4 separate regions of the Homo sapiens genome follow, and all the other regions are linked to region 3. The links are contacts of gene promoters, found by promoter capture Hi-C in blood cells and fetal thymus (Javierre and others, 2016). All regions are on one chromosome and are shown on one strand. Each heading gives the region's core, a stretch centred on a gene start or on the middle of the fragment in contact. The rest is flanking DNA. Distances are from core to core; before and after follow the strand shown.

The links. Contacts are between HindIII fragments. The CHiCAGO score rates a contact against its expected background, and 5 or more counts as called.
Region 1: a contact is called between a fragment that was not itself captured here and the fragment with the promoter of OLFML3 in region 3, in 5 of 17 cell types (M0 macrophages, M1 macrophages, M2 macrophages and 2 more). The highest score is 15.9, in M0 macrophages.
Region 2: a fragment that was not itself captured here is called in contact with the fragment with the promoter of OLFML3 in region 3 in 8 of 17 cell types (M0 macrophages, M1 macrophages, M2 macrophages and 5 more); the score reaches 27.7 in M0 macrophages.
Region 4: a contact is called between a fragment that was not itself captured here and the fragment with the promoter of OLFML3 in region 3, in 5 of 17 cell types (M0 macrophages, M1 macrophages, M2 macrophages and 2 more). The highest score is 16.7, in M0 macrophages.

The regions. Positions count from the first base shown.
Region 1 is chr1:114,293,384-114,296,083 of GRCh38, forward strand. No RefSeq gene overlaps it. Among named protein-coding and RNA genes, the nearest start is that of SYT6, 140 kb to the left of the region's middle. The HindIII fragment of the contact is 8,600 bases long and covers 1-2,700 here.
Region 2 is chr1:114,269,349-114,272,048 of GRCh38, forward strand. No RefSeq gene overlaps it. Among named protein-coding and RNA genes, the nearest start is that of SYT6, 120 kb to the left of the region's middle. The HindIII fragment of the contact is 1,496 bases long and covers 662-2,157 here.
Region 3 is chr1:113,977,950-113,980,884 of GRCh38, forward strand. OLFML3 (olfactomedin like 3) reads left to right here and starts at 1,525. Exons shown (of 3, transcript NM_020190.5): 1 at 1,525-1,681; 2 at 2,383-2,668. The coding sequence starts at 1,568. RefSeq lists an enhancer at 769-1,602. The HindIII fragment of the contact is 3,076 bases long and covers 114-2,935 here.
Region 4 is chr1:114,248,349-114,251,048 of GRCh38, forward strand. No RefSeq gene overlaps it. Among named protein-coding and RNA genes, the nearest start is that of SYT6, 96 kb to the left of the region's middle. The HindIII fragment of the contact is 843 bases long and covers 974-1,816 here.

The sequences.
Region 1 (2,700 bases), core at 7-2,506, 320 kb after region 3:
TGTGTTTAGCGCAAATGTTGAACTAGGAAAATCATTCGCTTTCCAGTACTTGATGCCTTGAAATAAAGGAATTTTCCAACTGGAGTAGATACATAGGGCTGATGACTTCCGTTGGGTTAGAACCTGCACAGGATGTTTGCAGGGCACAGTGTAACCCTGATGACCACAGGAGGGACCAGGACAAGGAAAACCAGATGACATGGGCCCTTCACGTCACTCCAGCAGCCAGGAGCAAGCCACAGCCCAAAGGAGCAGCAGGATCCAAGGGGAGAGCCAAGAGTGTGGACCCCAGTTTCCCAGCCTTCCTCCAGAAGTGCACCCCCAAGGCAGAGACTAACTCTGTCTTGTCATTCTACTTTGTTCTTGACTCACACTTGAGCCCCTTCTCCTGGCAGGGGGCTTAGGGGAAGGGATATTGCCAAGGAAAGCCTTGAGTTGTCTCTAGAGGCCATAATGTGAAGCCAAAAGGTAGCTCACTAGAAACTCATCACTGGGATGTCCTTTTACCATCCCTGGTAAAAGGATACACAGGCTCTACTAATAGAAGACTCTTTTCTCAGTCAGTCAATAAATACACAAGGGCTGCTCCCACGTATTGTCAGGCACCCTGCTGGGTACTAGAGTAGAAGGGAGAGAGAGTTGCTGGCCTTGATGAGCTCCCTGTCCAACCACAGAGGGCAACTATTAAGCAAGTGAATGCAATTCTTAGAAAAAGTAATCCCAGAGTCCCATCAAAAGCACCCTGAGAACATGGAGATGAGCACTAGAAGAGTTACAGAAGAACTCGCATTTCATCTGGGCCTTAAAAGTGGAAAGTGTTTCAGATGACAAGCAGGAAAGGAGAGAGCAGTGTTTACACAGCCATTTCAATATGATTTTACATTATCAGAGATAAATCTGTACTTAGCTAAGCCAAAAGCTGAATTTCCCTTGCAACCAAACCAATGTGGTGGTTGTGAACCCACCAAGAAGCCCTAGGAGGCTGACTGCTGGCTGTTCATAGTGTACCGGCTACTTTAACTACTTAACCGTATGTTTGCTAAGTGAAGCCAACTGGCAACAGAATAATGGGGAAAGGGATTTACTTTACAACCGACTTGGCCAAATGACTCCTATCCCACTAAAGATGCTTACCTGGTGCATAATGCCTCACTTCTTGAAGCTCTCCAAGGAGACAGCCATAAAGAGCATTGCTAAAAGGTTAGTTCATATAGCGTACCTTGTGTGTACTATGAACCAAAGCAGCAGTGGCTAGCCTGGAATTCAATGGCTCAAGTTCCACAATCAGGAGGCTTTTTCCCCATCAGTCTCTTCTAAGCCCAGGAGTTAAGAGTGGCTGCTCTGGGGAGCTTCTGGCTAAACATGGAGACTAGAACACATGCTTTTATCTGTTTCCTACCAAAAGTCCACTAAGATGATAGTATAGTATTTAAAAAACAAACGGACTACAAAGACGAGACCAGGGAGGAAATTCAGCAGATAATAAATGTCTATAAAAATTTGGAAGCTGTGAAGCAGATGAGCAGAGATAATTTGGATCAAAGCCAGCAAGATGGAGGAAATCAAGATGAAGCGAGACTCTCTATACTTCAGATCTCTAGAAAGGTTCAGGAATTGAAGACACTATGTGCCTCAAAAGATAGAAGTACATATTGGGGCTGGAAAAAAGGCGATCAAAAGACTGAAAGAAGCAATGAGAGCCACCTATCCCTCCTCTTGCCTTGCCCAGGCTGACTTTTTACCCACTCAGTCTTTTTTTCTTTCTTTTTTTTTTTTTTTGGTCTAGCTTCTTTTTTTCATATTTAGCGGGACCAGGGATTTACTCCCTGGAGAAATGAACCATTCAGGCTCTTTGGGGAACATGGGGAGACTGGGTCCAACTGAGGATGGCTATTAGCCTCCCTACCGAAAACGGGGATCGTGTGAATACTTAGAACCCAAGTCCCGCCCACTCCCACCACCCCGCACCGCCACACTCTGCTCCAGAATATCAGAAGCCAACCTTATATTCCTCAAAGATTCTTCAATAGGGAAATTGGCCAGCTCAAGAGAAATGTCTACGGATGCTGCTTTGGGAGATCTTTAACAAAACAGCCTGGTTCCCATCTGATCACCACTGTTTACTGTCACCAGACAATAAGCCCTTTATATGCACACAGAGCTTTGCATCAGCATTTTAGCGCCTTACCATGCTGATAATGCCTTCGTGTCTTAAAAATGGACAAAGATTAACAGACATTTGGAGAGTACCTAGAATGTGAAAGAAATCAAAACAGACCAGTAGATAAAAGAAACTTAGAGGGAGACAGTAATGAAAACAAGAAAACATTTAGAAATCTGTAAATGTTATCCTTATAATAGGGTTAGATAATTGCATCCATGAATTTGAGAATAAGAGACTCTAAAAAATAAACATTCAGAAAATAATGAAGAGTTCTCAGAAGTTAAAAATAAAATCAAAAAATTTTAAACTCAATAGGAAGTTTGGAAGATAAAATTGAGGAAATTTCCTAGAAAGTTGAATAAAAAATAAGTAGAAAAAGGAAAGATAAGACAACTAGAGAATCCAATAAAGAGAATCAGCCTTTAAATAATAGACATTCCAGAAAGAGAAAGAAAAGAAAATAGAGGAGAAGAAATTACTGAAGAAACAATACAAGAAAAATTTTACAAAACAGAAAGATAAGGGCCTCTGAAAAG
Region 2 (2,700 bases), core at 160-2,659, 290 kb after region 3:
TTTTAGTCTTCCCTGTGTTGTTTTGTTCTCTGGCTGTTTTGTGTTCAATTGGAGTAGATTTCCTTAGCCTTGGGTTTCTAGTATAATTATTCCACCACTGTCTCCCTTAATTACGTGGTTGTTGTCCTTCAACTCTTATTTTCATGTACGTTTATTCTGAGCTTCCTCCAATTCAATCCTTTTTTGGAAGAAAATGAAGCATAAAAGTATAAGTAAATAAAATAGCAGTTTCATGTGTATTGCTGTTACATTCCCAGATGGACTGGGGACACCTTGAAGCCAAGATTTGTGTCTTAGACTTCACTTGCTCACAGCCCCCAACACCTAAAGCGGTACCTGGAGGTGTTTCACAAACCCTTGTTTCAAAATTCACCAAACTGAGGGAGGAGGGTGGGAACTACCATTGTTGACCACTTACTTCCTGTCTGCTACTCTGCAAACAATATTTGAGCTCATCCACACAATAAGGTGTTAGTATTCCTGCTTGTATAGGATGACCCACATATCCCTCTTTGTTGGGGACCATCCCAGTTTTAACACTACAAGTCCTGTGTCCCAGACAAACCTTGGACGGTTGATCACCCTACACTTTAGAGATGAGGCCACTGAGTCTCAAAGAGATGAGTTACCTTCTCCAACTTGTCTTACAGATCCAAATCCAAGCTTGCCTGGAGTATGGAACTAGTTTATTAATAGGACAGATTAGAGTATAGGAGAAAAAGGAAGTGAGGTTGTCCAGGGCACCCTGGTCAAAGGCTCCGGTGTGCCCCAGCAAGTGGCCCCTGGGCACTGTTGCAGTGCCATGAGGAGTAGCTTAAAGTCCTACAGAAGAGACTGAGGTGGTTTAAAGAACTGTGAGTGGCAGGGCTTGGAGTTGGTTTGAAGATTAACCGCAGGGGTATAGTACAAAAGGGAAGGCAGCATGCTCAGGAGGGTTCTTCTCACCCAAACAGGCTACCTTGGACCCTGTGTTGCAGCCCCTGATGGTCTGTCTGCCTGCGGCTTGTATCACAGACTTGAGTCAAGCTGACTGCATCAGCTGACACTATATTTTCCACTAATAGAGTAACAAATGAGTAATTTGGACTGATCATTATTCCCTGCTTACTACTCATGTGCCAAGTATTTATGGAAACTAATACAGCATTCAGTTTACAGCTGATAACAGGGAAACCATTAGCTCCCCCTAGTCATCCCTCTTCCCTCTGGCAGAGAATCGCTCAACCTTGAAGGAGACCAGCTGAAGACTTTAGGCTGTATGATAAGGTTCACATTTCTTTTTTGTGACAAAGACATTCAGAGGCTCTCTAGCAACCTTTCTTGTGTTCTACATTTTTGCCTATTTAGTTTCTCTGCCTCTGAATCTACCTCTCTTCAAGTCACAAAAAATGAGGCCCTGTGTTACTGAAGATCCAAGACATGCAAGTTACACATCTGTCCCCAGCCCAGTTTCTGATACTTCCCAGACAATGGAATAATCCAATCACTTGCTTTCCTGAGGCTCAGGGGCCACCAAAGGCTGCATGTGTTGGCTTCTATAATCCAGTTGAACTCATTATGGTCACCAAGCTCCTCTGTGCCCTGCACTGTGCCCGGAGCTGGATACACAGGCTGAACGGCATGGTCCCTGTCCTCAGACTGCTCACAGGATATTAAGGTACTGACAGTCTTAAGGCATTTATGAGGAAAAAAATAGGTCATTATGGTTTATGTTGCTGGTGTGATTAAAAAGCAGTTATGTCCTTCAAAAGGCCCAGAATGATAATAAAATGGAGCAACACAAGGACATGCGAACCAGCTATCAGTTCAAAACAATATTTTCAGAACAACAGAATAAGAGGGAAAACAAATTTATTGCGACCTTGTGTGGATAACACCAGTAACTTCAGCTTCCTACCCTTGTTCGGAATTCTGCAATTTTTCCAGATTTGTTTATTTTTGATCATTGTATCCAAACACAACAAATTTTAAATTATATGTCTTATACACTCTAGGGGTTATTAAGCTAGACAATTCTGTGATTTTCCTTCTCAAGTTGTGTCTGTTACTGATCCTTATAGCTTCTTCGACAGATTTTCATAAATCAGATTTATATATAGTCATATAATTCAGGCTACATTTATGTTCTTATTATCAGTGAAATTAATGTCAAGTTAAAGCTTTCAATTTTTAAAGAACTGGTCTCAAGGAAAAATGAACTTTCACCCGAAATTGCTTTGATTTGCAACTCTTTCAGCAACAAGAACTCTAAAAGTCAATTTGTGGGTCTGGATTTGAGAGTTTGCTATTTTTAATTAAGTATATAAATCCCCTACCTCATTTTCCATTACAGCTATGTGTGGGGCCAACTTTGCTCTGCTGAAGTGCAGAATACATCATGTGTTTCACTAGCAGTAAATCCATCTCTGGAGACTTATCAGTGGCCATGATCTATCAAAGGTGGTCAGAAGATCAATGTTTCAAATACCCTCTAATGTGAATAAAAGAAACTTAGCTAATAATTTTTCCACATTAGGTTAGATTTACTTTAGGAAGCTTGGTATTACAATGGGCTCTCAAAAAGATTTTTAAAAATTTTAAATTCCCCCAAGAGAGAAAAAAATATATTCAAGAAAAGGCACTGAGAGTGGCACAGAAGATGAAAAGAGGTAGTATAACATTAGTCCTTACCAATAACCCAGCTTTGAGTTCCACCAGAGG
Region 3 (2,935 bases), core at 275-2,774:
ATAGGGTTTGGCAGGGAATACTTCCCAAGAATGCAGTGTCCAGGGTCCTTACTTCACATCATCTGGATCTGACCCTTTGAAAGAGGTAGAAGACTTCTGAGACCGGCTAATTAAGCTTTGTTTCCTCATATGTTTTGCCAGATAGCAGTAGCAGAATGAAAAGATGAGTAACCACAGGAAGCTGCTATTTTTCCCCTCCTTTCAAACTGTACTGTTAGAGTCATGGTCCTTTTTACAGAAGGAACCTCTCATCAGATTCTGTTGATTCTAAAGTGAATAGAATTTCTCCCGATAAAGAAATAGGGGTTTGTTTCGATTAATGACTGCAGGTCTCTGAGTAAATGCTCTATTTGATTTTTTTTTTCGGCCCGTGTGTCTACCTTATGGCCCAAGTCTACCTTATGGTGGCCATTAATTCATTTTGGGCTCCTGCAGCCTTAGTTGGGATATAGAAATGAGAAACACTCAGAAATACCCTTTTGGACCACAACCAAGAGAAATAACCAATAGTCTTTTCTCCCAGTGGTAAGGAAGTCAGAATACATTGATCTAGACTGCAACAACATATATATATATATCAGATTCCGCCCCCCCGCAATACATGAATGTATAGTAAATTAGTGTGAACTCACTGAACACTCCTCAGTTTTGGTGAGAGACTATATCTGGCCTCTTTCAAGCAAAGGAAAGCCATGTAAAACAGCGCTGCTGTCAGCCTTAACTTCCAGACGATCGAGTTAATTTACTAACTTCTCAGTGACCTGTTTTTTTTTTTTTTTTAATCTCAGTTATATTTTCTTCCTTGGGCTAAATCAGATATTTGCATAGCCCCCAAAGTAGTAATTGGATAGTCTTGGGGGAAATATGCATTTCAGTGGTGAAAACCCCTGTAAATTCAATATATTTGGCTTTTGTGGAAAATTTTCCTCATGGGGTGAAGTCTAAGCCTTAGTTTCTGTATTATCATGAGAGATGACACCAGCTGCTTAGCACAAGGTGGCGCCAATGAGCTTTAGAATAAGTTGGGCTTGACCACTTGGGCCATTGTTTTCCTGCTTCCTCCCTTCAAGCCTCACCTCCCCAGCTCCCAGCTTCTACTGAACAAGGCTGAAAACCCACTCTATTGCAGGGAAAGGGAAAGATTAATGAAAAATGTCAGTTTCTTAAGTCAGCACTGGTGAAACTTTCCTAAAACAGGAATGGCGTTTGCTGAGTTTTCTCTGGGGTCTCTGCTTTCTGCAGCTAGCTTCCCTGCTTGACTGCCTAGAAGGCCTCTGCTTTCGGGTTTCCATCTCTTTCCCCTCCAGAGGACCCTACAGCCTAGGCGGGAGGTGGTTAAGGCTTCTGGCTGCTGTGCAATGGGGCCATCTGTGTTTGATCAATCCTGGCGGAAAGGAGGGGGTGGGGGTTGTAAAGAGAACTGAAAGCATTCCAGAGTAGTGAGAGAGACCCAGAGATCAGGAGAGAAGGCACCGCCCCCACCCCGCCTCCAAAGCTAACCCTCGGGCTTGAGGGGAAGAGGCTGACTGTACGTTCCTTCTACTCTGGCACCACTCTCCAGGCTGCCATGGGGCCCAGCACCCCTCTCCTCATCTTGTTCCTTTTGTCATGGTCGGGACCCCTCCAAGGACAGCAGCACCACCTTGTGGAGTACATGGAACGCCGACTAGCTGCTTTAGAGGTGAGGGACCCCTTTCTCTTCTAGCCCCGCCTAGAAGGATTCCAGGGCTATTGGTTCAACCAGTTTGTTAGGGATCTGGGGATAACAAGAAAGGGCTCTGTTAGAGTCTACAGAAAATTCTCTCTTAATAAGAGGACCTTCGGAATGACAAGCCCTCCTCTTACCCCACATAGAACAATTCCAAAGCAAATCGACTTTTGCGTTTTACCTCTGGGATTAGATAGAATAAGGGGGCAGAGTGGAAACGAGAGCCAAAATTGTGGGGCTGCATCTCCAGAGAAGGTGATGATTCTGTTGAAGTTGGAGGTTCCCGGGGAATCTATAACTTCCTGTCTTTTTAACAGGTTGAGATCCGTAGCATTTTAGTGTCCGAGAGGATAATTGCTAAGGGAGCAGAGACCTCTTCACACCTTCATGCGCTTAGACCTGCCTAGAGGCTCAGATGGCTCAGTGGCACTGCTCACAGAGAACACAGGCTGGAGGACATGGAGTCGGGGTAGGGGCCTAGGTGAATCTCAGCTAGGCTCTTTGCACATTTAGCACCTCTGCACATCTGGTTTCCTTTTCTGCAGGAGTGGAAGGGGATATTGAAGCCTGGCTGAGTTTGCTCTTTTTTTCCCATTCCTGACTCCCGAGTTGGGCCTCTCCCTGCCTGGGAGTTGTAACCCTGCAGCCTCCCTCCTGATCCCCCATCCCTTCAGGAACGGCTGGCCCAGTGCCAGGACCAGAGTAGTCGGCATGCTGCTGAGCTGCGGGACTTCAAGAACAAGATGCTGCCACTGCTGGAGGTGGCAGAGAAGGAGCGGGAGGCACTCAGAACTGAGGCCGACACCATCTCCGGGAGAGTGGATCGTCTGGAGCGGGAGGTAGACTATCTGGAGACCCAGAACCCAGCTCTGCCCTGTGTAGAGTTTGATGAGAAGGTGACTGGAGGCCCTGGGACCAAAGGCAAGGGAAGAAGGAATGAGAAGTACGATATGGTGACAGGTAAATAATCTGAAAGCAGGCCCCTAACTCTTCTCAGAACCGATATTCTTCCTTCCTTGCTTCTTACTCTTTTTTTCGCTTTGTCCCAGTCCATTGTGGCTCTGTCTTCTGGAATCTGTTTTAGGGAAACCTCTGTAATGCCAGGTCTATTAAGGAGAGGTTCTGGGGATCCAGGCCGCTGTGGTACCCGCTCTTTCTCAATTCTCCCTAAGATTGGAGGCAACCACTGGGCAAATGCTCACTATTCTCCAGATCACCCACCCTGGG
Region 4 (2,700 bases), core at 145-2,644, 270 kb after region 3:
CAGCCTCTCTGCAATGACCCCCTGCCCACACAATGAGACCTCCCACACAAGCAGCAGGGCTGTGCTTGGATGAGAAATCTCTCATTTGAGTGACTTAAGGAAATGTCTCTTACTCTTCCAGGGCAGGTCCTTCAAAGTTGCCACTTAGTTCAACTGAAGCCAGAGAGGTGGCCAGAAGATGAGATGCCAGCACTCTCCCTACAAAGTATCCTGGGTCCCGTGGCCTCTCAGTTTGGGGACATAAAACAAGGTCATGATTATGTTGATATCCCAATTGCAATGACTCTGAGCAAGCCCTCCCTTCCCCAACCAGAACTGAGCCCCTCAAGGGGCCCCTAGTAAATTCTGGGAACTGCCCCAGGAAAGCTTCACGTTGGGCACAGGCCAGGCTTCCAGCAGCACCAACCACAGGGGGCTGCCCTGAGGTGCCTCTTCCTCTGGCTTCCACTCACCCGTTAAGCAGCTTGAAAACGCCTTCAAAGGCCACCAATCCTGAGTTCTGTACGGAGGGAGGAGAATGGCCTTTCCCTACTCCGAGGCCGCACTTTGTCACCTGGGTCCTAAAGCATCCCAGCTTGTGCCCAGAATCTCACCAAGTCTGCCATGAAAATAATTCCATCCAATTCTGATCCTTATCCCTGTAGAGATGAAACCCAGGCCAAGGACAGACAGTGGAGAAGAGATCCATGAAACCCCTTCTTTCTTCTTCTCCCAATTACAAAGCTTAAGTGTCGTGCATATAAATAGAGACAGAGGAAGGGGACAAGAACACTTCCAATAACCGGGTTGCAGTTCAGCCAAAATTGCCCCTGAGGCACATAAATGAAAACCAGTCCAGTTAGATAAATCAAGGACATCTGCCTTCTCCCTGTGGCTCTAAATCAATGGCAGGTATATACCAAGAAGAGCACAGAGTCAGCAATGCTGCAGTCTGAATGGCGGGGAGGGGAGAGTGGAGAGGACGAAGCCACAAAGCTTTCTTCTTTATAAGAAAGTATTTATTTATAATACAAACATTTTGCCTCTCCTGGAGAGCATCACCTTTCTTCTTTTCGTTCCTTTTACCTGCTTGAAAGCACAGTTCATTGATTCAGGCTTTTCGCTGGGTCAGCCCACTTTCAACAGACTCTAAGGAAGAGTAGTTAACTCCTGCTCTGAGACCCTCAGGGCAACTGGGCATAATAGAATCTCTCTGAGACTCCTGCAGCCCTTGGCGAAGAGTCTATTCTAGGTATCCAGTTCACATTTTCTCTCAAACTAGTACTAAGTTGAAAAAATAGCATCATAGAGTCTGCCACTACCTGGAGTCAGGGCTTGGCTGTCGATTCAACACAACTACATCTCATCGGATGAAAAGTCAATTTCAATAATAAGATATCTGGGAAGGCTTCAGAAGCTAATTTTCCCATCCTTGGATAATCTGGTACTGCTGACTGACTGTTCCGGGGCGTAACCTGCCAGCCGGTGCCTTCACCAAACACAGAGCACTAGCACCCTGCCCTGGCACCCCAGCCCCGGCCCCTTTCCAACTGAGCTGCCGCACACGACTTGGGGAGCCATCTCTGGCTGCCATTCAGGGGAAGACAGATGGCTGAGAAAAGATTTTCTAGAGTTTCCTGACCAGATTTCTCTCCTATGTATCATGAAGCAAACCGTGGCTTTAAGATTCATCCCTGGAGCAGCAGGCAGCCACCGTCTCTGAGTCGAGTCCTGCTTGGTTGGGAATTTATTTCTAAACACTACGGGATTTGGGTCAGGGCTTGCATTTTAAGCAGCCCATTTTCATTTTCTGGGACATAGGTAAGAAGAGAGGACAAGCTTAGATTTTCACAGGTGGTATTGTTGCCATAAAAAGGGGTCCCAATCCAGACCCCAAGATAGAGTTCTTGAATCTTGTGCAGGAAAGAACTCAGGCCGAGTCACAGGGCTTGGGAGCACAGTGAAAGAAGCAAGATTATTGGAAACTACTCCATTATGGAGTAGAGAGTCCTTGGAAAGCAGGAGGAGGAACTCGTGTCCTTCCTTTGTTAGGGTCGCTACTTTTAAGAAACTATAAGGAGCTATAATTAAGCTTGAAATGTGCAGATGTATGCATTAAAGGTAGGGGCTATTGGTGCTATCAGTGACCACTCATCTTTCAACCTAAGCCTGCTCATTAACATTATCTTTAAGTCAAGTGGGGGGCACTCAGAACATCTGGATGTTCTGTGGGCTTGGTGAAAGATGTTCTGTATGGCCACAAATATTCTGCACTTATAAGTGGTGGCCAGCTTAGAATGTGGCTATTTTCAAACCATAAGTATTAACCTTATAGGTGCTGTGTGAGTGCCTAGTTACTCAATTTAAGATGGAATCACTCTGGTCATATTTTATTAAATCAGAGGCCTGGTAAGCAGGGGCTCCTCTAACATTATTAAATCAAAGAGAGAGGCAGACAAGAACAGTGAGATCAGGCAAGAGTCTGAAAATGGCACTGGATGTGGGACAGAGCTGCCCCATTGCACCACAGGGAGCTGAAGAGAAGGGCCCTGCCATTGACTGCCACCCAGCTGTAGGCCAGGTACCCTCCTAGGCACTTTACGTATGATAGCTCACTTATTCTTTGAATCTCTGACCTTAGCTGTTTCACTGATAAAGAAATTTTATCTCTTTGCTAACTAGGTGCTCTCCCTAGTGGTCACCTCTACTCATGTGGCTTCA